7 separate regions of the Homo sapiens genome follow, and all the other regions are linked to region 1. The links are contacts of gene promoters, found by promoter capture Hi-C in blood cells and fetal thymus (Javierre and others, 2016). All regions are on one chromosome and are shown on one strand. The core of a region is centred on a gene start or on the middle of the fragment in contact, and the rest is flanking DNA. Distances in the headings are between cores, read along the strand shown.

What was found. The method cuts DNA at HindIII sites, captures the fragments that hold promoters and counts their contacts. A CHiCAGO score of 5 or more calls a contact.
Region 2: a fragment that was not itself captured here is called in contact with the fragment with the promoter of PLXDC2 in region 1 in 1 of 17 cell types (megakaryocytes); the score reaches 5.1 in megakaryocytes.
Region 3: a contact is called between a fragment that was not itself captured here and the fragment with the promoter of PLXDC2 in region 1, in 1 of 17 cell types (neutrophils). The highest score is 5.0, in neutrophils.
Region 4: a fragment that was not itself captured here is called in contact with the fragment with the promoter of PLXDC2 in region 1 in 1 of 17 cell types (neutrophils); the score reaches 5.1 in neutrophils.
Region 5: a fragment that was not itself captured here is called in contact with the fragment with the promoter of PLXDC2 in region 1 in 1 of 17 cell types (neutrophils); the score reaches 5.7 in neutrophils.
Region 6: a contact is called between a fragment that was not itself captured here and the fragment with the promoter of PLXDC2 in region 1, in 1 of 17 cell types (neutrophils). The highest score is 8.5, in neutrophils.
Region 7: a fragment that was not itself captured here is called in contact with the fragment with the promoter of PLXDC2 in region 1 in 1 of 17 cell types (neutrophils); the score reaches 7.3 in neutrophils.

The regions. Positions count from the first base shown.
Region 1 is chr10:19,814,228-19,818,003 of GRCh38, forward strand. It overlaps PLXDC2 (plexin domain containing 2), which reads left to right and starts at 2,205. Exons shown (of 14, transcript NM_032812.9): 1 at 2,205-2,964. The coding sequence starts at 2,853. LOC124902388 (a long non-coding RNA gene) reads right to left here and starts at 2,001. Exons shown (of 2, transcript XR_007062078.1): 1 at 175-2,001. RefSeq lists an enhancer at 1,129-1,894. The HindIII fragment of the contact is 8,470 bases long and covers 1-3,254 here.
Region 2 is chr10:20,778,380-20,782,155 of GRCh38, forward strand. It overlaps NEBL (nebulette), which reads right to left. Exons shown (of 28, transcript NM_006393.3): 28 at 1,594-3,776. Among named protein-coding and RNA genes, the nearest start is that of NEBL, 120 kb to the right of the region's middle. The HindIII fragment of the contact is 5,709 bases long and covers 1-3,776 here.
Region 3 is chr10:20,612,136-20,615,911 of GRCh38, forward strand. No RefSeq gene overlaps it. Among named protein-coding and RNA genes, the nearest start is that of MIR4675, 62 kb to the left of the region's middle. The HindIII fragment of the contact is 2,352 bases long and covers 458-2,809 here.
Region 4 is chr10:20,482,814-20,486,589 of GRCh38, forward strand. No RefSeq gene overlaps it. Among named protein-coding and RNA genes, the nearest start is that of MIR4675, 67 kb to the right of the region's middle. The HindIII fragment of the contact is 3,197 bases long and covers 408-3,604 here.
Region 5 is chr10:20,447,423-20,451,198 of GRCh38, forward strand. No RefSeq gene overlaps it. Among named protein-coding and RNA genes, the nearest start is that of MIR4675, 100 kb to the right of the region's middle. The HindIII fragment of the contact is 5,687 bases long and covers 1-3,776 here.
Region 6 is chr10:20,404,539-20,408,314 of GRCh38, forward strand. No RefSeq gene overlaps it. Among named protein-coding and RNA genes, the nearest start is that of MIR4675, 150 kb to the right of the region's middle. The HindIII fragment of the contact is 4,109 bases long and covers 1-3,776 here.
Region 7 is chr10:20,351,613-20,355,388 of GRCh38, forward strand. No RefSeq gene overlaps it. Among named protein-coding and RNA genes, the nearest start is that of MIR4675, 200 kb to the right of the region's middle. The HindIII fragment of the contact is 5,565 bases long and covers 1-3,776 here.

The DNA.
Region 1 (3,776 bases), core at 955-3,454:
ATAAACTTAACTGCTAATACCCTACTGTTGATTAGAAGCATTACTGATAATATAAAAACAGTTGATTAACACATATTTGGTATGTTCTACATATTACATACTGTATTCTTAAAATAAAGTAAGCTAGAGAAAAGAAAATGTTAAGAAAATCATAAGGAAGATAAATATACTTACTGTTTATTAAGTGGAAGTGGATCATCAGAAAGGCTTTCATCCTCATCGTCTTCACATTGAGTGGGCTGAAGCGGAGGAAGAGGAGGGGTTAGTCTTGCTCTGTTAGGGGTGGCAGAGGAGGAAGAAAATCCATGCAAAAGCGGATCCTCGCAGTTCAAACCCCTGTTGTTCAAGGGTCAACCGCACAATCAGGTTTTGATGAGAAGACTCAGTTTTCAAACTTGATTTTAAGCAGGTATATATCCGGGTACTCAAATTCGGATGTAATATTACATAGAACTTAAACACTCCTAGTTAAGCAGAAATAGAAAAACCCAGTTACCTAAGTAGAAATCAACCTATGGGAGGAAAGCTCAGGAAAGAGCCAGGGTCCTGGCATAATAAAGAGTATAGGCATGATATATGTTTGTGTTTATACGTGTATATCTGTTGTTTGGAAATAAAGAGCAAATTGAGTATTGGATTAAGGGAAACCTTTCTTGTTTCCCATGAGAGAGCCGTCCTTTGAGCATCACATTTGCAAAGGTAGATTGATTATCCGGATCCACTTCCAGTGGGTTTTGTGGCAAGCCGAGACATCTATTGACAGCATCCATAGACTCTTCAGAGCTTGGAGTGGAAAGGACCTTGAACTTAGAACACATGCACATTTATTATGTGATTGAAGTCGTCTTCTCTCACTTTTGCTTCAGTAAACACTTAAACAAAGCCATGTACTTTGCGGTAGGCAATGTTCTATATTTATTAAATATACAGTTAACTCATCCAATCCATTGCAACCACCTTATAAGGGCGTTACTCTAATTCTCTCCATTTGATGGATGGATAACTGAGGCTAGGAGATAAACTGCTCATTGCGGGGGAGGTGAAATTCCAGCCCAGGCTGTCCGGGCTCTAGATCCTGTACTTTTAACCAATAGCGCTTTGCTTCTTTTCCTTGTATTTATCCCTTTCAAAAATGATTAACTGTATGCAAAATAAGATATCAACTAACGAGAGGGCCGGCAAGGGTTAACGCGGAAACAGATCCCCGAGCTGAAAAAACAAAAACAAACTGGGGAGCCAGAGCCCCTGAAAGCTCCGGTAGGAAATTCAATGGGCCTCCTGTTCCTTTAAACTCTCGCTTTCGCCCCCGCTGACACTTTGCAAAGCCGCGGCGGCAGCGGCGGGGACCACGCTGCGGTGCACCACCTTCCGCCACCCTCCCGCGCTGGGCTGGGGTCGAGGGGGCTTCGCAGAGTCGGTAACCGAACCGGCTCTGGTTTGCTTTCTCCACTCCCTAGCCACTACCAGAACCAGCCTCCGCGAAGGGGCGAGCTGTGGTTAACCCTTTCGTGCCCAGGGAGACCCCGCCAGGGTCGGGGCGGGGCGCGATCGCCCCCCGCAGTCGGGCGCGAAGGCGGCCCGGGAGCCAGGTGGGTGTGGGGCGCAGTTGGCGGAGCTGCCCAGGGCGTGCGAGCAGGCTGCGAGGATGGCGCCCCGGCGGCGCGGAGGTACCGCCCCGCGCTCCCCCGATAGCTCCCCGGCCTGTCCCCTCTCCCCGCGCTCTGGGGCAGCCGGCTGCCTGGGGCGCACGGGGCTGGAGTGGCCCTCTCCCTCCCCTTCGCTAGGCTCCCCCGGCTTAATCTGTTGGCCGCGACTCCTCAGCCAGCCCCGAGGAAAGTGCAGCCATTGGACAGGTCTGTGCGGGCTGCCGGTTTCAGGGAGGAAGGTGGGAGAAGCCTGGAGGAGCGAAGGGGAGGGCGGAGGGAGGAGGGAGGAGGGTGCGGCGGCAGATCTGGCAAATTGCGAGCTGCCTTCCCTCCTCAAAGTGTGGAGAAGGAGCGCGGGGGAGCGTGGCGACGGCAGCGCCTCCTCCGCCACCAAACTCCTGGGGCTCCGCGGGGGCTTGGGGCCACCTCCTCCTGAGCCCGGAGGAACCCTCTCCCGATAGGTTCCAGCGTGACTCCCTCCCACTCCACCCTTTTCCTTTCTTCTTCCTCTTTTTTTTTTTTTTTTTTAAACACATTTTTTTCCTGGCTTCGGACCTCAGACTGCTGCAGCCCTAACCTTCCCAGGGCTCAGCTCTTTGGAGCTGCCCATTCCTCCGGCTGCGAGAAAGGACGCGCGCCCTGCGTCGGGCGAAGAAAAGAAGCAAAACTTGTCGGGAGGGTTTCGTCATCAACCTCCTTCCCGCAAACCTAAACCTCCTGCCGGGGCCATCCCTAGACAGAGGAAAGTTCCTGCAGAGCCGACCAGCCCTAGTGGATCTGGGGCAGGCAGCGGCGCTGGCTGTGGAATTAGATCTGTTTTGAACCCAGTGGAGCGCATCGCTGGGGCTCGGAAGTCACCGTCCGCGGGCACCGGGTTGGCGCTGCCCGAGTGGAACCGACAGTTTGCGAGCCTCGGCTGCAAGTGGCCTCTCCTCCCCGCGGTTGTTGTTCAGTGTCGGGTGAGGGCTGCGAGTGTGGCAAGTTGCAAAGAGAGCCTCAGAGGTCCGAAGAGCGCTGCGCTCCTACTCGCGTTCGCTTCTTCCTCTTCTCGGTTCCCTACTGTGAAATCGCAGCGACATTTACAAAGGCCTCCGGGTCCTACCGAGACCGATCCGCAGCGTTTGGCCCGGTCGTGCCTATTGCATCGGGAGCCCCCGAGCACCGGCGAAGGACTGGCGGGTGGGGTAGGGAGGTGGCGGCGGCGGCATGGCGAGGTTCCCGAAGGCCGACCTGGCCGCTGCAGGAGTTATGTTACTTTGCCACTTCTTCACGGACCAGTTTCAGTTCGCCGATGGGAAACCCGGAGACCAAATCCTTGGTAAGTAAGATGCACTTTAGCTTGCTGATTTTGTGCGCAGCTGAAGACCTCTCTGGCACTCTCGTGCTCCCTACCCTCTCCCCCCAACATCACCTATCTGCCCTTGGGAAACTTATTGCAGTTGCTTTTCGGCTAAACTTAGGCTTCCCAAATGGGGAAAGAGGGTTATCAAGAGAAGGACGCCGGGGACTAGGGGTTTTCTTGAGGCTTTCGGGCTTACTTCACCTGGGCGGCAGGGGGTGGTACTGTCTCCCCAAAGTAGCCCAGGGAGGGCTTCAGTGTGAGAGCAAAGCTTCTTCCGTGGATACATCTCCTAGGACCTGGCATCTCCAGGCTGTGTGCTCTCCGGCTCCTCCTCCTTCCTCGCTGCTGGTTAAACTAAGCGTGTGTGGTATGGGGTGGGTGGGGGACGTTGTGAAAGCCAGGGATTGCAGGTCTCCCCTCTGCACGAGAAAATTCCCTGTGGCAGCACCTTCCTTCCCCTGGCGATCCCCACTAGCTCCGTCTAGTGACCTGGGCCAAGCGGGCGCTGGAAGGGGGGCGGGGTAAATGCGGCCGGCGCAGAGGTGGGGAGCAGGTGGGAAAGGTGGAGGCGGGCTCGCCTCTGGAGACCTACCCCTGCTCCCATTGTCCTCCGCCTGCCAGCTTCACAGACAGGCCTGAACGCGCAGAGAGTTCCTTGGAGTGCCCTGATTTTGTCCCCGAGAGGGCCCCCAACCTCCGCATCCTCTTAGTGGCTGTCCTGGCAGGTGCGCGTCCTGCGGGGAGTTGCGCCCCGGGGGCTATCGCCGAGCGGGAGCTGCCTCCTGGAA
Region 2 (3,776 bases), core at 336-2,835, 960 kb after region 1:
TACTTATACTTTCTGCTTACTCACAGCTTAGGCTTCCTCCTGACTTCTTTCTCTACGTTTTTTAACCATACAACCTGAGAGCCAACTTGCTTTCCCTCTTGAACTCAGGCCTCTTCAGGGGGATCTGAGCAGGTTCAGCCACCACCATCCCTGTTAGGCAAAGTCCTTGTGTAGCCCTGCAGAGTCACCTCATTCCAATCAGCTGGGACCAGGGAAGTGAGAGCATGTAGGACAGAGCATGGTTATCCACAAAAATTAATGAAAAAGTTAGCTGGGGCCACATAGCCTTGGACAGTAGCCCTCTGGAAAAAAAGGCAAGAAGTGTGACTGTCTTGTGTTAAGAATCAGAAACTAGTTCCCTTCAAGAGTGATCTTATGACTCAATTTGGGATGCAGAAAAGTTTCCTCTTTCCTCAGGTAGAATAACAGGAGTTTAGATGTTGTCCATTTCTCTATTTTAGTTTACTATTCCCTTTCATGTTTGCTGCTCAAAACAGAAAAGGAACTGGGGGGTGGGGGGCAGGGGAAGCTACAAAGATTAAAATGCCACAACGTAAACACAAAATCAGCAACTAGACTCTTGGTTCTAATATTGACTTTTCACCTTTTGAATCCATTTTCTCATTCTGCTTTTTTTTGTCAGAACTCTGCAGCTGCCAAATACAAATATAATAGACAAAGGCCTGAGAATTTTGCTTAGAATGACAGAAAGGAGCTAAAGTTCACAACTGGACCATATCCAGTTTTCTGCCACAACAAAACTCATATTCAATCCCTCTGTGTAGGAGAAGCATATATTAGCCCATTTTCACACTACAATAAAGAGCTGCCTGAGATTGGGTAATTAAGAAGGAAAGAGATTTAATTGACTCACGGTTCAGAATGGCTGGGGAGGCCTCAGGAAACTTACAATCATGGCGGAAGGCGAAGGGAAAGCAAGGCGCTTTCTTCACAACGTGGCAGAAAGGAGAATAAACAGAGGAGGAACTACCAAACACTTAGTAAACCATGAGATCTCGTGAGAACTCACTATCACGAGCACAGCATAGGGGAAACCGACCCTGTGATTCAATTACCTCCACCTGGTCTCTCCTTTGACACGTGTGGATTATGGAGATTATAGGGATTACAATTCAAGATGAGATTTTGGGTGGGAACACAGCCAAACCATATCAAAGCAGATTATATGAAGAAAAAAAAAAATCCCCTTTTACCTACTTTTTAGTTTATTATATATTTTTGTAGAAACTTATTTTGGTAGAAAAGTTGTTTGGTGCGCATGTCATAGTTACCCGTAAAACCTCACAAATGTTTAAGAAAATAAAATTATAAGCACAGTCTGTTTAAAAGCTAAATTATTTTTTGTCAGAAAAAAAAAAATCTAAGGTATTCATTTCCTCTGTGGCCTGGGTTACAAAGAGTAAATTTATAATCGAATGGAAAAAAAAAAAGTCTCAGAGGGAAAAAAGGTAGTGAATTCTTCAAATAAATAACTGTGCTGTCTTGTGATTTCAAATACAGTGTGCTTGATTCATAATACTATTAAAATATTCATTTCATACTTACGGAATATGAAAAACAGAAAATCCAATATTTGGAAGAAGTGTTTATTCTACGAGCAGATGTCATCCGCAAAGTTTATCAATTTACAATTAGGAAGGATTATGAGCCAAAGAGAAAGTTTTACAAAATAATACAATAAGACTAGCATCCAAATCGCATAGATTTATATGAGTGTGAAAAATAGGGACTCACTTTTTCAATTATGGGAAGCGTAGTGGGGGGAGAAAAGCAATTGTGTTCTGTGATAAATGAGCCTTTCTTAGCTGAGAAATCAGTTGCTTCCCATTTTATGTACTCAATTTGTGCACTTTCTATTCTATGCTCCAAACCATTTCTTTCATCTTATGAATAGAAGAAAATTAGAATTGTACTATTGAGGACATATGAGGAATTTATTCTTGAAATAAATTAACTACAATGATGCATTGTTGCGGTACTTTGATATAAAATCAGAAAGATACTGAGCTTGGAGAAGCATAATATTGTTATCACTTACAACTAAGTTTATTTGGGGGAGGAAAATATCTTGACTGATTCACCAATGTAAATGCACTGAAGGCAGCACACACCTCTGATGCGATTTGATGTGAGTTGTCATGTTAAATCTCAGACCCGGGGTATTATTAGGGTGCATTGCTTGCATCTAACAACCCATGCTCCAAGAAACCACGGTGAGAGCCAAGAAGTGAACCATTTTTTTTATATCCTGCATTTATTTAAGCAAACCAAATGTGTAGAGATAGGAAATTAATGTGTTATAATGTTTTACAAATACAGAGAGAAAACACAGAATATTAAGACCCTGAAGAGAGTGCATTTGAGAACGCAGTTCTATCATAGGAGACCACTTGCAGGGAACACATTAAAGCCATTGCTGACACAGCCATCTGTCATTCCTGGTTTGCCGTCATTTAAGTAGTTTCAATAGATAAATCGGTGATTTGCTTTTAAACAAATATTAATGTTAATGATTAGGGTAGCCTTGAAGGGTTTGTGAGTGACTGTACTATACAATGTGATGCTAGGCTTAATGTGTCATTTCAATGCTGTTGTACATTATGCAGGGGAAATAATGTCTTATTACACATTAACTGCGACATCCACTAAAATGTGAACTAGTTTGCATAGGTTAGTCCTTTGGGCAGCACGATGTTGCTCTAGTCCACCAAGGCTTAAAGATTCACAGTGTAGAGGAAAAAAATATGAATTAAAGCATTTCTACTAAAATATATTTTAATAGCTGGTGTTAACAATTTGCATAACAAAAGCCAAATTATATTAGTAACATTGTAACATTCCGTGAAGCCCCTTCATTTGCAAAACATTCAATGTTTTCTTCAAAACTGTTACACTCTCAAAGTTAGTCTCGCAAATTAATCATCAACCACAATTCTACATATTTTGAAGCAAACAGAAGCCAAACTGTACAATGGTTCAATTTTGATCACAGGTCAAACATCAAGTTTCACACCATGCCTGTAATAGACTTGGTGCTGCTTCCTAAATGCTCAGCAATTCATTGCATGGACACTGGAGAATGGGACTGTGATGCAGTTTTCTCTTTTCCTTTAAAGTACATCATTCTTAACAGCAACTGGATTACAAAGAAGTGATACTATGCAAACTGGATACCATGTATCAAGCACAAAAAATCCTATGGCATTCCCAGGAATATACTGAAGTCATACAGACAACTGAGAAAATTTGCTCAAAGATTCTTCCAAGTTTATGGGTTCAAGTAGTCTAAGCATCACAGAATAATAACCACAGAAGCAACATACAATGCCTTGACTTTTTTGATCAACAGTTGACAGTTAGTTGCGAGGAAAGGGTCCAAAAGGCATGGAATACTTCAGAGACTTTTATTTTAGCATCCTTGTCAGTTTACATAGCTTCTTACTTAACTAAAAGCTCTCCCACCTCCATATCACCTTAACCAAAACAACCACAATCTAGCCACTTTTAGATTATCAGAAGCAAATCGCTAAGGTATAATTAATTTATGAAGTGAAGTTCATCTTGTGTAGTGAATCCAGCCTCACAATTATTCTATCTTACAATAGGCATTTTAAATCCCAAATCTAAAGTTAATGTTTATATAGCTCAACTCTATATAAATCCACAAAGAACCTTTCAGAAATAGATGGAAGAAGTCGGCATTTTCTAAAGTTCTAAATCTTTAGAGATAAAATACAATCAGCTAACACCTTTAA
Region 3 (3,776 bases), core at 384-2,883, 800 kb after region 1:
CTTCCTAATGTGCTTAAAACAGGGTCCTCACACCTTGTCCAATATATCCGAGATTTCTCCCCTTTCTAGAGAAAACTACTTTAAATTCTGATAGATTTTTTGTTGCTGTTGCTCATAGTTACTTCCATAACTCTAAATAGCTCATGCTGTTACTTTTAATATTTCTATTTTGAGGCTATCTAATGGGTTCTCTCTATGGAAAATCAAGATTCACTCTCATTCACTCTCCCTCAACCTGACTGACCCCCAAGTATCATCTTCATTAGTTTAGTTAGATTACTATACAGTATTTACCTTATTATAGTTAGGTCAATGCTGGGTCACATATTAATCTATAATAACTTTTCCTTTTTATGAGCAATATTTTGGTTTTACTTGAAGTTAATCATCACACTTGTGTTTGCTTAGTTGTGCAAATGTCTGTCACTAACTTTGCAAACTTTTCCTCCAGTGTCTAAGCTTCACACATGAGCTAATTTTATTGATTGCATCTTTATTTCATCTCTGGTGACATCTGACCTGTTCTAGTCTGGACAGGTTTCTTCCCAGTCCCCAGCTGGCTCTTTCTTAACCACCAACTTGGGTTTGGATTTCCTATAACTGGATCCTGTGTCTTTATTGCTAGTTTAGTTCATAGTTTTGGTGGAGCATATTCTCAAGACCATCCATGTGTGGAGAACTAATTTGACAAAGACTTGATGTGAACATGTCTCTATTTTCTAATGTAAATCATTTTCCCTTGGGATATCAAAAGTTTACTGCATTGACTTCTTCCCTCTAGTATTGTTTTTGAGGCATCTAAAGCCAATCTGATTCCTGATCCTTCAGAAGAACCTCCTGCTGCTTTGGGGAGAAGGAGGTTCCTCTACCTGGTAGCTTTTGGGTACTCCTCTTTGCCCCCATGGCTGAAATTCACAATGAAGTGCTTGGTGTGGTTTTATTTTTATAGGTTATGCTGTACACTCAATAGGTCCTTATATAGGAAAAAAACAAAAAATAAATAACAAAAAAAACAACAACACTGTTTTCTTCTTGATACGTCACTTTCAATGCATCTGACAAGAGACAGGGGAGGAGTGTTACCACACCAAGCAATTCTCCACTTCTTGGCAGACACCAACTGGGTGCCCCCCAGTTCAATTCAACTCTGACACTAACAGAATCAATGTAGGCCCCAAAGTTTAAAGGTTCAGTCCCACAAGACTGCCCCACACTTTGCAGGCCAGTTGCAAACAGTAGGTTCCCAGATTACCCACAACTTCTGTCCTACTTGGCTACAAACCAGAGTTTCCCACACCCAACTCTGTGGGTTTGACAATTTGCTAGAGTGGCTTATAGAACTCAGAAAAGCACTTTGCTGTTATCAGTTTATTATAAAAAGATACAGCTCAGTAACAGCCAGATGAAGAGATGCCTAAGTTAAGATATGAGGGAAGGGGCACGCAGGCTCCATGCCCTCCATGGGTGAGCCACCCTTCCAGGACCCCCACACGTTGAGAAATCTGGAAGCTCCCCAAACACAGTCTTCTTGGGGTTTTATGGAGGCTCCATTTAGCAGGCAGGATTGATTAAATCATTGGCTGTTTGTGATGTTCATCTCCAGCCCTCTCTCCACTGGTGGAAGGTTGAAGGGTGTGGCTGGATGTTCCAACCCTCTAATCATTTGCTTAGTTCCTCTGACAAGCAGCCTCGTCCAGTGCCTGTCCAGGAGTCTCCAGCCACCAGTCATCTCATTAGCATACTAAAAGATGCTTATCATGTCAGAGGTTCCAAGGGTTTTAGGAGCTACATGCCATAAAATCAAATATTTAGTGGAAGACTAATATGGTTTGGCTATGTCCCCACCAAAATTTCATCTTGAATTGTAGCTCCCATAATTCCCACGTGTCATGGGAGAGACCAGGTGGGAGGTAATTTAATCATGGGGGCAGGTCTTTCCCATGCTGTTCTCATGATAGCGAATAAGTCCCATGAGATCTGATGGTTTTATAAATGGGAGCTCTTCTGCACAAACTCTCGTCTGCCACCATGTAAGATGTCACTTTGCTCTTCCTTCATCTTCTACCATGATTGTGAGGCCTCCCCAGCCATGTGGAATTGTGAATCCATTAATCTTCTTTCCTTTATAAATTACCCAATCTCAAGTATGTCTGTATTAGCAGCATGAGAACAGACTAATACAAAGACCAAAATATATATTTCTTATTATATCACAGTAGCACAGCCCTCTTAATGTACAAACTCATTTTCTACAATTCTGGCTAATTTCTTGAATTTTTTTTCTCTAATAATTTCTTTTCTCTCTTCTTTTTCCTGTTATTCAGATGGATGTACCTGCTTCTTGAGCTGAATTCTCACCAATCCCTCATTTCTGGTCATTCTTAACCTTACTCCCAGATGTGTTTGGTCTACTGCAGCCTTCGGATCCCTACTAGAGTTTGCCTTAGGAATCAGCTTTCTCAGACCTGTGTCTGAGATAAAATGTCTGGGATAAAATGTCATTTATCCTGCTTCCTGGATTCTGAAATTTGATGATTCTGTTCTCCTCTTTCATCTCTTCTTTCTTAAACCCTTTTTTTTAAAAAAAAATCCTGTAACTGTCATTTACTGGAACTTCAGAGAGAAGCAGAGGTTAATACCTATGTTCAATGGATACAGGAGATAAAAAGAAATTATTTAGGCAGTTAATGAGGGTAAGAGAGTTCTTGGCAAGGCTTCCCTTTTAACACAAGCAACCCGCCAAATCATTTCTTTTCTAACAAAGAGCAGCCGGTAAAATCAAGCCACAGACACAGATAAGCAAGCTAGAAGCTTTCACAGGTAAATGTGGCAACTGTGCCAATAGAAACACACTACCTAAGGGCCAGGTATGTTCAACATGGAGGTTCCCTCTTCCCTTTTGTGGCTACATAAGTGGTAAAAAAGCATGGAGCCAGCCAGGTAGAGGCCTCATCTGCATAATAAAAGATTAGGGTGAGATGTCCAGCTTCTTCACGCCCTATGCAAACAGCACACCTGGTCTGACTAATCTCTTGATCCCTATGTAAATGAGACACCGCCTCCTCAAGCTCCTCTATGAAATCCCTTGCATTTCAGTAGGAAACCAGAAGACCCACTTGGGAGCCCCATGCTCTCTCTGCAGGAAAGAGAGCTTTTCTTGTCTCTTTTCTCTCGCCTATTAAACCTCAGCTCTTCAACTCACTTCTTGTGTGTCTGTGTCCTTGATTTCCTTAGTGTGAGACAACGAACCTCAGATATTTACCACAGACAACGTAGCCACTTCACAATCTTGCAAATTTTCACCAAGTCCTTTTCATTATTATGTAAGGAGTTGGAACTGACTGATGAGGGTTTGATTGTGATTGCCTCTAGCTCTCCCTGATAGCATTTGGATGAGCTGGACAGATGTAGGATTAACAAAGGTCTGTAGGGTGGAGCAAATATGTCTCATTACCAAGGGTAAAATTTCAAGTGAAGAGGCTCCCATACTAGAGCAACCACAACAAAACAAATAACCATGGATTTGGGACTGAACACTAGGAAAGAGTGAATATATGTTTTTGAGGTCAGCTGTGCTGAAGGCAAGAGAAGAACATTGCCAAGTAACTTCCAAATGTGACATTTTTCAACCTTGGTTTATGACTGAAAAGCCAAGAAAGACTAAGCTAAAATGGAATTCAGCTTCCCAGCCTAAATAGTGGGAGAGGTCCAAAATACAGCTAAGGAAAATTTTACTGGGAAAGCTAGTTGTATCCATTTACTCTGTTCTACACATA
Region 4 (3,776 bases), core at 756-3,255, 670 kb after region 1:
GACCTTTCCTGTAAAAAGGCATCTTATTATTTTGCATAAAAATTAAAAAGTTATATAATTGCTGGATGTCAGGTTGTGAGATTAAACATCGTCACATAAGCCCCAAATCATGATTATGCAAAGCAGTTAATACTTACAGTTCTTTCTTGCTACTAGAACCAAATGGCTTGTTACTTCTTTTACAGCAATACGTTATGCAGAACAGCAACAGCATACCTAAAATAAATGTGCTTGTATGTGCTACTTTCTTAAGCATTTATTACAAGGCACAGTTTATAGTCTGAAGAGTTTCAAGAAGTTTTATGAGATAAATGCGAACAGACGTAAAAACACCTATGTTGTAGGATCCATATAGCTGAGATTAAAAAAAAAAAAAAAGAAAGAAAGCAATACATAGTTCAGCCAAAAGCTTTGAATGGCATGATTAATAAGCCTAGAAAACATAAAGTAGTGGAGTTAGCTTGGCTAAGCTGAGAAATGTGGAGATAACAGGAGAAAAACACTGAAAAGCATTAACCCAGAGTGGTCAACCTAGTTCACTGCACTCTTTTTCTTACGGATGGGTACATCTTGCCTCTGGGAAGTATCATAATCCATTATAAGCACATAAGTATAACAAGTAACTAAATAATGTCACTTAGTTTTGGTTGATTGCAAACATCTCCCTGTTACAGTGGACTTTTGAATTAGAGATGGTAGCTCAAAATGTGCTCATTCCGTGGTGTATTAAAAGTATCTACCAGTTTCCTGAAACTGGGAAACCTGGATTCTAGTTCAACCTCTGCCCTTAACTCCCTGTGTGACTTAAGCCAAGTTATAAAATGTCTTCACTTCAGTATTCTCATGCTTAAAATCAAGAATCTAAATTAGCTGTTATCAAACTTAAGGGTTGTTAAACATGTGAAATGCTTAGAACATTAAACACAATGAAAACAATAGGTTTTATGTATTTCCAACACTGAAATGTATGATTCTATTGTTCAGAGTGCACACTTAGCATGCACCTACCCTTAGCATTTCAGATTGTTCTAATAGGATTACCTCTTATTAGAGGTGTTTGTGACCCTCTTTTCCCTTTGGAATGAGACTGGCTTTGGGATTCCTCAAGTGGGCATGAGGCACAAGAAATCTATTCTGTCTGCAACCACGCCTGAGACACACTGTAGGGTAAGTGAGGAAAATTGAGCGCCTTCCCAGGGGGAGCCAAACATCTCTGAGACTCAATAGTGTGTTCAGCAGTTTTCTAGGAAAATGCCATCCTAATACCTCACTGTACCTCCCATTCTTATTACTCCATCATTCTGGAGTTAAAACTAAGCCACCTGAAATCTTAGATAGTCCTTCCTTTTTCTTGAATCCATTGTTTTTGTATACCCTTGACCTAAGTGACTCCATTTTAGAAAAATACTCCATCTTACATTTTAAAAGGCATCAAGCCATCGGGTCCAGGTGCTCACCTAATCAATAGAGACAACACCCAACCAGATAGTGGTGTAACCATTTACTACCAGTCCTTGTCAGAGGGCTCAAGGGCCATAAAATGAGCAGGACTTCACCAGCTACACATGGCCGTCTTGACTGACCCTGTCTTGCTGCCACTGGTGATCAGTACCCAGCATCTGCCATCCAAGGTTCTGACCAAATCAAAGACGTTTCCTTGCAAGATATTAACATCCATCTGGACCAAGCCAGGACACTCTCCTTGTCCGTGTGACTCTCCTTAGACTGGTTCATTAACCCCTTTTTCCTATTCCCTTTTCTTTTGATGTTAAATGTTAGTTTGTTTGATGTGGAATGTTTGATCTATTTTACTTATGTATTGGTTAAGTATACTATTACCTACACTTTGTAATACTGACTGACCTGTGGAGTGGCTTGAGCATGTATACGCACAGCCCTGGCTACCGAGTGTATGGCTAATACTAAGGAGAAGTGCCTCCTTGGGAGCTCAATGTAGCTCACGGGTTTTATAATTAAAATAGCATCAATACAAGTCTTACCTTGTGGAAAGACACAAATGTGCATGGACCTGGTTATGTCTGAACTTGTGCCACTCGTGGAAGTTTTAAATCTACATATTATGTTATTTCACAACCAAGATTTTATTTGGAAAGAAAACGCAGATCATTAGGGAAGCCTGATGGATTAACTTGAGCTGAAAGGAAGTCAGCCGAAAGACTTCCTTCTTCCTAATGATGCTCAAATTCAGGGTTTGTTTTTATATAAACTTAGTGTCCTTCCTGTAAAGAGATCCTTGTGCTCTCCCCACCTAGGAGAAGTGGGGATCTATACAGGAGGGGAGTCAAAGGGGGTCTTGGGTGAGTGATCAGTATCTATGAAAAATTTTAAAATCCAATTTAATTTTGGCAGCTTAATTATTCCTGAGGTCTGAGCATTTTTGACAACCTGCTGAAATATGTCAAACACAAGTGACAGAGCTGGAGATAAGACTGAGTTGAGACTTTTAACTACAAAATGATGGGACAGTGAGGGCAGAGGAGTTTTCCCATAAGAATTAAGATATAGAAGAGGAACTCTGGACTTTTATCCCTAATGAGGGCATTTTAGACTGTAAGTGCAAATAGAAGCCTTCTCTCCTGAACTGGACATTGTTTCAATTGCTAATAAAAAGATTCCGCTAGCTGAATTTCAGGACTGTGAAGCAAAGTGGGACAGTGGCGGGGAGACTAAAGAAAGCCAGGGAAATGAACCCCTTCTCAAGCAATGAGGCTTTATAAATGCTGAAGAAGCACTTAAAACTCGACAGTCTGCAAAGGAATATCACTTTCCAAACCTCTTAAAGGTTTGCTTAGGGTACTTTTCTGCTATAAGAGAAAATATTTCCTTCCCAGTGATCGAATGGGAGACCCAGACTGACTGGCTTAGCCTACTAATCTCTGCTCAGCACTGGGCAAAATGACCGACTAAATTAGAAGCACTTGAGGATTTCATCAGTAAATGAAATGCTGTGTCAGGGATTAATGATCTATTTTGTTTTCTGACTTGGAGCAGCAAAGCAGTCCCACCCTTAATATAAATAAAATTATTAGTGGAGGTTAGAACTCAATGAAACTTGCCAGGTTTTAAGCATGTGGAATGTTGAAAATTGCACATCCTCTTTAACTTAATAGCATTTATTGGTTTTATTTTTCTTCTAAAAGTGTATATATGTATCTTTTTGTGGAAATATCGGAAAATGCAACTGTGCACAGAGAATCTAAAAAAATGACTCAGTACCTCAATATACAATGGGGTTTTGGGTGAATCTAATCTGTTATTAAGATATAAGACTCGTTCCAATTTATTCATTCCTTCTACCACCACCAAAATCACTCACCACCATCTGTTTGCAGAGCCATTATAGTGATTATTTAATCTGATCAGTGTGGATAATGACTAAAAGATTAGAGGCCTATCACTCTTAAGCCTGATCCACTGCTATTTGATAAAATATCAACTGTTTATGAAAAACAAGATCTCAACCAATCATCAAGCATGGAAGTGAATCAAGATAAATTTTAACAGAATGTTTTAGTCTCTTCTTTGTCTTTGTACCAGGCAGAAGCAGCCAGAAAAAGAAACAAGTTTTTATTGTATTAGATCAAGCTTCCCCAACCCGCGGCCCATGGCTGCATGTGGCCCAGGATGGCTTTGAATGCGGCCCAAAATAAATTTGCAAACTTTCTTAAAACATGAGATTTATGCTCTGACCTATTTTTTTTAGCTCATCAGCTATTGTTAGTGAAAGTGTATTTTATGTGTGGCCCAAGACAATT
Region 5 (3,776 bases), core at 741-3,240, 630 kb after region 1:
ATACAGTAGAAGGTACAAAGGCAGACAAAGTGAGAGAGGGACAGAGAGGAGCTATATTGTGTGTGTGAATAGGGTGTTCAGAGAAAGCTCTCCCCAGTAGTAGCATTTAAGCAGAGGCCTGAGTGAAGTGAAGAAATAAGCCATTCTGATCTCTGGGGAAGAGCATTCCAGGCGGAAGATACAGCAAGTGCCAAGGCCCAGGGGCGGGAATGTGTTTGATGTATTCGAGGGAAATTGAGGCTACCTGAATGGTTGGAGCACCATGAGGAAAGCAAAGAGTTGCTGGAAAAGACATCAGAAACAAGGCTGGTTGGTGGATCAGGAAGGAAGCAGTAGGCAAGGTGAGAATTTTACAGTTTATTCTGAGTGAGATGAGAAGCCACTGAAGGGAGTGACAGTCCACTTCAACCGGATCCCTCTGGTTGCATGGACTCCTCTGAAGGGCAGGAGTGGTGGACTCTTTGGTTGGAGCATAGAGCCTTCAGCAAGAACCCAGAGGAGCAGCAGCTCTGCCTAGGAGCTGGGGCTGGTGGTGGCGGTGGTGACTGTTCCTATTAGAGCCAACAAGAGGGTTTGGTGGGTCATTTTGGCTACTTGTTAATTCAGAAAACAGAGGTTTTTCTCCAGCAGATGAAGAAAGGGTGGTTGATGTTTTAAGTAATGTGTGGACACAATTAGGATGAAAGAAGGAAGAGCCCACTGTGTCAGCACAGCCTCGGGAGGGATCCAGGTTACATAGATATGAAGCCAGGCTTAAGTGGGTGGTCAAGCCAGGCTTATTGAAAACAGACTTAATCCTTTGCACATTTTAATGAATAATTGGAATTCTTAGTTGATAAACTTAATAAACTCATGGATGAAAAATAATACCACTTTTGGAGGCTGGGGAGAAGATATCACCAAATCCTTTGACTTTAAAATGACTGAGGGCAAAATGGGGAAGTTTTATCACTGAAAGAATTCCCCAACCATTGGAAGTGATTTTATTTTTAATGCATAGAATCAGGGCCTTCCTTCCCAAGTAATTACCTAAATAGATATAAATGTGTTTCAAAATTGTCCCATTTTCCAGACACCATTATTCTGAGCATGCTTTTGATGTCCTGAAGCCCAGAGTACAATTATCTTTGATAGTGGGGACAGTTTTTCAGATAGGTTTCCTTTGAACAAGAGAAGGACTTTTCCCTAGGTTTCCATTTCAAGAAAATTAAATTGAATTGGATTTTCAGGTACCATTAATTGATGTAAGAGAGAGAACAGAAACCTAATGATTTGGCTCAAGGCCTTAAAAAAAAAAAAAAAAAAGGAAAGAAAAATAAAAAAAGAAAAGGAAAAAGACTTTAGTGAGAATAGCCTCCAGGCCCAAAATGTCAGATTTCTTGCTGGTTCTGCAGCTATACCTCCAGTTAAAAAAACAAAAGGAAACTATAGGGTTGATCATTTCCTTGGAGACTGCATATTTTTAGCTGCAGTTTCTATATTCCATTTTTCAGAAGTGCCAGAGATAGATTATTTATAGCAAGTGGATTTAAGAGTTAGAAATATTGAACAACCTAGACGAAACTTTTAAGTACGTATCATTTTTTCCAGTCTACATTTCAGTACCTGGTATTTCTAATGATTACATGGAGAAATTTCCATTCGACACTATTTTGAGCCTCTTAGGCTAACCGGATAGCTTAAAGGCTCTTAAAGAGCACAACAAATGTATTTGGTCAACAATGAGATTTTCTATACTGAAAAAATGGGTATGTTGTTCATTTTATTTTTAAAAGTGTGCATTAAGATGCATATGTGTATTTAGAAAAATTTTTATAATCTAGTAAGAACTTTTGTCTGGAGGGATATTGTACACTGGCCTGGAAGTCCAATAATGAAGAGAAGAAGAGATAATGGTAGAACCAACTGGTAAGCGTGGATTCTCAGCAGGAGGTGACACTGCTCCCACGGGGGTAAACATTCATTCTTAGGGGTCAAGAAAATCCTCAGGTATTACAGTGGTTTATTTCCCTTTTCAGTAAGCAGAATAATGCTTTTCCAGGGTCTCACCCTCCCAAAGAAGTCCATTCTCTACTCCCTAGAACCTGTGACCTCATTATGGTAGCTGAGAAAAAGGAATTAAGGTTGTAGGTGCAATTAAGGTTGCTAATGAACTGACCTGGAAAGGAGAGAGGAGATTAGCCTGGATTACCAGGTGATACAGTTTCACCATGTCTTCACCCAAACCTCATCTTGAATTGTAGCTCCCATAATTCCCATGTGTTGTGTGAGGGACCCAGTGGGAGATAATTGAATCATGGCGGCAGTTTCCCCCATACTGTTCCTGTGGTAGTGAATAAGTCTCAGGAGATCTGATGATTTTATAGCGGGGGTTTCTCTTTTGCTTGGCTCTCATTCTCTTGTCTGCTGCCATGTAAGACGTGCCTTTTACCTTTCACCATGATTGTGAGGCCTCTCCAGCCACTTGAACTGTGAGTTCATTATACCTCTTTTTCTTTATAAATTATCCAGTCTCAGGTATGTCTTTATCAACAGCCGAAAATGGACTAATTCACCAGGTGTGCCCAATGTAACCACAAAAGTCCTTAAAAGTGGAAGACAAAGATGGACTAAAAAGGCACAGAGAGATCCCACATTTGCTTTGAGGGTGGAGGAGGGCCATCACAAGCAAAGTTATATGGGTGGCCCCAGAAGCTGGACACACATTTGCCTCTAGACTTCCAGAAAGAAATGCAACCCTGGTGATCCCCCCACTCCAGCACAATGAGACCCGTGTCAGACAGATATCCCTGTACAACTGTAAGATGACACATGTGTGTTGTTGCTGCTAAGTTTGTAGGAATTTATTATAGCAGAAATAGCGGGACAATTAATATACCTTCCCAAAGGTCATAGAATACAAACATAGTGTAGCTGTAGTATTAAAAAGTCGTTGGTGGCCAATTAGGAAAAATGTGTCTAAAAAGGCTCCTTGGGGGGCAATAATGAAAACAAATTGAGTAATATTGCTCTAGAAGATGACAAGCAGGCTATTTGACTGCAGAATTTCATAAAATGGAGGCATTTTATGGCATTAGTGTTTGGATGAGTAAATTTTACAGCACCAAAAGCTGTTGCTTTAATCTGGAGCAGATCAGAAAATTAGCAAAAATAGAGTTATTCTTAAAAGTGAATAACTAAGAAAGTATTCCACGGGCAAAAGACTTAGGAAACTCTAATAGAAACAATATAGTTGGTAAGAAATGAAACCTACAAATCGCAGCTATAGAAGAACACTTCTCTAATTACATGTATATAGTTGCCTGGAAGAAAAAGTTTGAAGGTTGATAGGTCAGATGCTAATAGTGAGTTCTCTGGATGGTCATTCTATTTCTGTTTATTGTTGTTGTTATTATTGTTGCTGTGGTTTGTTTGTTGTGACTTTCCTAAAGGAAATATATATATAATAGGAGGCTTTTACTATATGCCAATAGTTGGTAACTGGATGGGAACCAAAATTTCATAATAAACAGTTTTCTCAAAATCCAGTTTGGGTTGAGTCTTAATCTTAAAAAGAAGAACTGGAATTATAAAATAAGTTTATTTCATTTTATGTATTGTTATTACTAAATTTCTGTTACAGATGTAGCTATGTTGTTAGAGCTATGTCTTTAGAGAGTAGAGAATTGAGAACATTAAAGTAGTGGCAATTTTGGTCTTTTTTTTTCTCAAATTTATATAATTACTTGATTATATACTTCATGTTTGATTTCTGCAGCATAGAGAGGGTCATATTG
Region 6 (3,776 bases), core at 502-3,001, 590 kb after region 1:
TGGACTTCTCAGCTTCCAGAACTGTGAGCAATAAATTCCTGTTGTTTATAAATGACCCAGTCTCGACTATTATGTTAGAGCAGCAGGGATAGACTAAGACAGTCACATGGTAACATACACATGTGTAGCACTGCAAACTTCATTACTTACATATCCTGCAGCTTTAACAATCCATACCTTTCTTCCTCGATAAGCTATAACTTCAAGGAGAGCAGAGAATGTCTTATTCACTTGCAGCATCCTCAGGCCTAGCACAATAACCAGTAAGTACATCACAGATCTAATGAAAATGTTGATCGGTATGAATAAACAGAGCGCAGTGTATTAGCCATTGAGGATGCCAGGATCTAGACACCATCTCAGGCAATTCAACATCTAGCTGGGGATGCAGGACATGTAAAAACAAATGCAAACAGTATCAGAATAAAATAAAGAATAATCAAATGTATCATAAATTCCAAAAAGCTATACTTTCAGTGAAATCTACAAGGTCTTAGAGGCATGAAGACAGTGGTTTGGGATGGCCAAGAAAGGTTTGTTTGTTTGTTTGTTTGTTTCAGAAAGGTGATAATCAGAGAAATGGAGCAACTTAGTGGAAAGGGTGCCCTCTTGGTCTTTTTGGCAAGGGAGATCATGGGTAGCAAAGTAACGAGCTGCATGCATAATGGATTTGAAGAACACATCTGTATATTTTCATTTTATTCTATGGGATACCTAGGGCAATAGGGAATTCTCTCTTTCTCTCTTCCTTCCCTTTTTCTCCTTTCCTTTCCTTTCCTTTCCTTTCCTTTCCTTTCCTTTCCTTTCCTTTCCTCTCCTCTCCTCCCTCACCTCCCTGCCCCCCTCCCCTCCTCTCCCCGCCCCCCTCCCCTCCCCTCCCCTCCCCTACCCTTCTTTCCTTTCCTTTCCTTTCCTTTCCTTTCCTTTCCTTTCCTTTCCTTTCCTTTCCTTTCCTTTCCTTTCTTTTCCTTTTAAAATTTTATAGCCGATGTAGTAAAAGCAACTTTTGGGAACACTCAGGATGACAATATGTATAGGTCAAAAATATGATGGGAAGGAATAGAATTTTGTGGTCATCCATGTGATAGAATAAGGAGGGCTGTAACCATGAGAAAGATGGAGCAATGACAGGACCAACCAGACCTGATGCCCAACTAGACGGAGAGGGGGAAGGAGTAGGGAGTGTCTTAGGGACTCCCAGCTTTGGAAGGGGGATGAAGAATGCTAGGCATACGTTAAAAGACAGAGAGAGAGAAAGCCAAGGAAGGGTGACTATGTTGAATTTGAAGGGACAGCAGCACAGCCCAGCTATAAGAAATCACTCACGGATGGGTTTGATCTTGAGGCTTTGTTTGTGGCATGCGGTGCTGAAGAATTTGGTTTGAAGGACAGCTGCATACAGATGTTTTGCTTCCCTGGGGAACTTACAGAAGAGAGTCTTTAGTTAGAGACAAAAAATATTCATGTACTGGCTTTGCTTATAAACCTAAAGGACAATAATAAAGAATATTAAATTCTCTCGTGGAGTCCCAAAAAGTGATACTGACCCTTTTGGTTCAAACTTTGCATACCCTATCAGTGACTTCCAATCTTCATAAAAATAAGAAATATTAGTATAGGTCAATATTTTGACATTTATTATTACTACTAATTTCAGATATTAAAGATGAAACATCAATGAGTAAACATGATTAATGTTTAAACCAAGCAGATCTTCACGGCTAATCTAATAATGCAATAAGTGCACAAGTTTCAGATCACCATTTTCTCTCAAAGAAAAGTATCTTACTAGATGTGAACTTTTGCAGCATGAACAGCCCTGAACAAAAGAAAAACTGGCTTGGCTTTTAGAATTGAAGATCTGAGTGTGCAGGAAGCAGGCCAAATTAGCTGCAAATAAAGTGTCTGCACTATAAAAACAGTTCTGCAGCTTTTTCCAATGGCACTGCCTTTGAGTCATCTAGGATGCACAGTGCTGTAGTTATTGGGTAGGTTTTTAGTTGGATGTCTTATAGATTGTTCAAGAAATTAACAGATAGTCTGCAATGACAGGGCCAGCTATGAAATTGCTCCAACTTTTATTGCTGAAATGTTGACCATTCTGTGAATGTGTCAGTGGCGGTGACAAGACTGCAGTTTGAAACCAGTCTGACGATCCCCACCTCATCAGGGGCCCATCTGACTTTAGCATATTGGCACTGAACACCGACGCCAGCCTCTGTCCAGCACAGGAAGCCCTCTTGACACTTGGCAGTAGGTGTTGGGAGCCATATTGAGAAAGCCAGGAGTCTGACCAGATGGTAGCTCTCCCTTGAACTTCTTTACAGATTTATTTTCTCTATGAAGCAGAGGGAATTGGCCAAGTCTGCCAAGCACATGGCCTTTTTCTGTACTTTCATCAGATGAGGAAGCCCTGGCTAGTCTTTTGGAGGCCGAAGACTTGGCAGGCTAGCAATCTTGGCAAAGCCACGCAGCTCACAGACTACCAGGGGGCCCTTCAGATCACAAAGCAATCCTTGAAGTTTGCAAAGTTCCTAGATGAGGGGTGTGGGGACAGGGCAGCAATGATCCATCACAGACACCTACAGGCATTCTGGAAATATAACCAGCTCTGCCAAGATAGAGGGTGAAATAGAATATATTTAACAAGTCTTTCCAATAGAAAACTCATTTTGCAAGTGTTTAAATGCATAAATGTTGAACGGGCATTATGGTAGTCCATCCAGGTATTGATTCCCACACATTTCCCAGAATGTGCTCAGACTCCGTAGGTTTTCATAGTGAGGTTAGCAACTTTTATTTTCATTTAATATTATTATTATTCCCATCTATTCTTTTAAGGAAAGGATAGCAAGAGCACTAAAGTGTCTTATGCTCCTACTCTTCAACCTCCAATTGACTTTATTTTGAAACAGCTTTATGGAGATGTAACTCATATATTGTGCAATTTGCACATTTAAAATGCACAATGATGGTTTTTGATACATTACATCATTATTCAATAAGACTTGTGGAATGTTATTTTCCATTTTTACTATTTTAAAATATACAATTCAGTGGCATTAATTATATTCACAGTGTTGTGCAACCATCACCACTATTTCCAAAGTTTCATCACTCTAAACAGAAACTCTGTAACCATTAAGCAGTAACTCCCTATTTCCTCTTCCCATAAGCCCCTGGTATCCTTTCATGTACTATTTAGCTCTATGAATTTGCCTATTGTGGGTACTTCATGTAAATGGAATCATACAATATTTGTCATTTCATGTCTGACTTATCTCACTTAGCATAATGTTTTCTGGGTTCATCTGTGCTGTAGCATGTGCCAGAATTTCATTCCTTTCTATGGCTGAATAATATTCCATTTCATGTATATACCCCATTTGTTTATCCACTCATCTGGTGATGGACATTTGGGTTGTTTACATCTTTTGTGGAAACCCTTTGGCTACTGTGCTTAACTGACTTTCGTATGCCTTTCAAAGGAGAGAACGTGTGCCTGGTTGCACTTTGCAGTCAGGTGCACATGCATTCTGAATGCCTTGCAATTTTGTACATGCTTTAAGGAGAGGCATCCCATGATAGGCCTCTCAGTGCCCAGCATCAATAAAGACTGGCTGGTAAAAATTGCATGTATATAAAATAAAGGGCAGAGTCACTGAACGCTTTCACTAACGTAATCTATTTGAGAAAAGGTTATGTGGTTTTCCTAAGCATAAATCATGCCTGACTAATTGAATAGACTTCTTTGAGATGATACATATTTACGTGGG
Region 7 (3,776 bases), core at 379-2,878, 540 kb after region 1:
TACAGAATTTTTTGCCACTGTAATTAAAATTTTTCTTCCATGAGTCAAGTCCTCTTATGAAAATGATTTCAGCTACTCATTTTGTGTATGCCTCTTTTAACGTTATTGGTCCCTGTATCGGTAGTACTTTAATTCATTTATTCTTTCACCATGATGTATTCCCCAAACCTACCAAATAAAGCAATACACTTAAAAAAAATTGCACTAACAAAAGGATCACATTCACAATTAAAAAAAAAAAAAGGTACCTAGAAATAGACTTAACAAGAAACATGCAAGATCTCTGTTGAGGAATGTATAAAATATTTGTGAAGGACATAAAGAATCCAAATAAGTGAAAATGTATAACTTGCTCATGGTTTGGAGGAAATATGAGAAAAGTGTTCATTTTCCTCAAATTACACTGTAAGTTTCATGCAGTCTCAATCAAGATCTGAACAAGGTTTCTGTCAAACTTAAAATGTGCTTCTAAAATTTATACAGAAAACTTACTTACCAAGAATAGTTACTGCAGTTTTGAAGAATGAACAAAATTGGGGAATTTTAGCCAAAAAAAAATTAGTTTTCTGATTACCTAAAGAATTTGTATGACCCAATCAGAATAAAACATCCCAATAGGAAAACAAAAATAAGCAACTGATGCAAAGGAAACTAGCATAGCCAAAGCAGTTATGAAAGATTACATCAGGAAAACTCCAGTTAAAACAATAGACTATTATGTCCTATTCATCTTTTGGGAAAAATTTAAATATCTGACAAAACTATGTTGGTGAGAATTTGGAAAAACAGGAGCACCAATTCCTGGTGGTGGATGCATAAATGTATACAAATGCTTTGGAAACTGTATTAGTCCATTTTCATGCTGCTGATAAAGACATACCTGAGACTGGGTAATTAATAAAGAAAAAGAGGTTTAATAGGCTCACAGTTCCTCGTGGCTGGGGAGGCTTCACAATCATGGTAAAAGGTGAAAGGCATGTCTTACATGGCGGCAGGCAAAGAGGGAATGAGAACCAAGCAAAAGGGGTTTCCTCTTATAAAACCATCAGATCTTGTGAGATTTATTCACTACCATGGGAACAGTATGGGGGTAACCACCCCATGATTCAATTATCTCCCACGAGGTCCCTCCCATGACACATGGGAATTATGGGAGCTACAATTCAAGATGAGATTTGGGTAAGGGCACAGCCAAATCATATCAGAAATCATCTTGAACAATCTAATTGTTGCAAATGCTCTTGCTCAATGATCCAGGAATCCCACTTATAGGTGCAAATCCTGAAGAAACTGGCATTCAATGAGATTCATCCGCATTGTTTATATTAGTGAATAAATAGAAACAACCTAAATGTCCACCCACAGGAGAACAGATAAATAAATTGTGGCATAGTTATCTAATGCAACATTACATAACAGAAAAAAATGAATACATTGAATCTGTAAGTATGGCATGAGTAAATCTAAAAAATATAATGTTGGGAAGAGGATTAAAAAGCAAGTTGCAGAATATATAAATTTATCAAATTTACATAAAATTTAAAATGTTCCACCTAATTTCTATGCACTGCTTACATATATAAAAATATGTTTATCAATATAAAACCATGGATAAGAATGATAAACATGAGGTCCTCTTACTGGTTAACTGAGGAATAAGTGAATAACATGGATTCAAAAAGGATGGTGTGGCCGGGTGTGGTGGATCACATCTGTAATCACAGCACTTTGGGAGGCCAAGGCAGGTAGATCACCTGAGGTCAGGAGTTCAAGACCAGCCAGACCAACATGGTGAAACTCCATCTCTACTAAATACAAAAATTAGCCAGGCATGGTGGTGCATGCCTGTAATCCCAGCTGCTTGTGAGGCTGAGGCAGGAGAATTGCTTGATCCTGGGAGGCAGAGGTTGCAGGGAGCCGAGGTTGCAGTGAGCCGAGATTGCACACTGCACCCTAGCCTGGGAAACAAGAGTGAAACTCGGTCTCAAAAAAAAAAAAAAAAAAATCGAAAACAAAAAAAGGACAGTGATGAAGGCCTCAACCATGTTTGAAACCTTGTTTCTGTGTTTAAAGTGTCTTACAAAAATGGAGCACTGAGTTTAGATTTGAAAGAATTTTTCAATATACTTTATAGGTTATTTTCTGGATGTTTGATATACTTCACAATAAAAATTGAAATAATTTTGTTTCCCACTTTTCCACTTAATCGTACATTGTAATTTTTTTGTATAACACAGTAATCTTAATACAACTCTTAAATTTTCGCTAGTGTTTCATTGGCTGAATACTAAACCTTTCTCCCTTAGTTGGACAACTTTCAACTTTCCAGTTGGTTTCAATTTTTCAATATGATAAAACTTCAATCAAATCTTTTCAAAAAGGGCATTTTTCAGTTTTTAAACAACTGAATATGAAATGGAGCACTTGAAAAGAGATGAACATGGCAATTGAGAAGAAAAGTTAAGATAAAAACTTTTCTTCTTAGTTGAAAGTTTAAAATCACAAATCAACTACTGGAAATAATTTGCAGACATATCCAAAGAAAAGGTAAATAAAGAACATTTAATTATCCTACAAGGAAGCATCTAATTTTACAAAGACATATTAGAGACAAACCACAGCTACATGCAAGTCACTGAATCACAACACAAGATTTCATGTTGTTCATATTCAAAGGCTATTTTTTCAATTGTTTGTCAACCACAGTACTCAGCTTTTCCATTGTGCATATGCCAACAGTCTCTTCCTAAGTAAAACTGGGCATATGGAACATTTCAGCTCTAAAGTTTGGCCTTTCAAGTTATTCAAATATAAAAATAGCCAAAGAATGAAGTTAAAATGGGGGAAAAAAAGTATTTTCCGTTCATGCATTGCTTTCAATTATATGTTCCAGAAAAAAAATTACCTTCAGGCTGAGAAAAAGCATGAAAAATTTCAACCTCAAATCTAAATATCAATACTTGTGAAAGTAAAATGCAGAGAAATGTGGTTAGGGCTAACAATTACCCATGATCTCGTCTATTTATTTCCTAGTCGTCTTATCTGCCTTTACTCTCAGAGACACACACAGATGCTATATATTTTCCCTCTACAAAATTAATTTTAATTCTGCAAAAATCTGGGAAGGAGAATGGATTGCAGAGTCAGACTTTAGTTTGAGTTCAATTTTTGCCATTTTATGTTCTATAAACTCAAAAAATACCTAAATATTTCAGAATTTCACTTTCTCCCATCTCTAAAGTTAGAATATGACTACTTTTGTCTTGCTTTAAGTATTATTTGAAATAAAGTATGGTATAAAAATTTAAGTATTAATTAACAATCATGTCACTGTTTATCTAAGGATTTAGCAAGCTGTGTGAAAGCTGTCTAGCCTGCAAAAGGCAGTCAAAAGGTGTTTGTCCTTTTCCCCTTTCTCTTGGAAAACAAAAAGACATAAAATTATCATCTGCAAAAGTTGTAGTAGTTATGCTACTATGGTATATGCCATTGCTTTATGGAGTAACTGATTGTTTTCTTTTAAAAATTGCAATGATAGACTGAATAAAGAAAATTTGGTACGTATACACCATGGAATATTATGCAGCCATGAAAAAGGAATGAGAATATATTCTTTTCATGGACATAGATGGAGCTAGAGGCCATTATCCTTAGCAAAATAACACAGGAACAAAAAACCAAATACCGCATGTTCTCACTTATAAGTGGGAGCTAAATGATGAGAACACATGGACCATAGAGGGGAACAACACATACTGGGGCCTACTGGAGGGTGG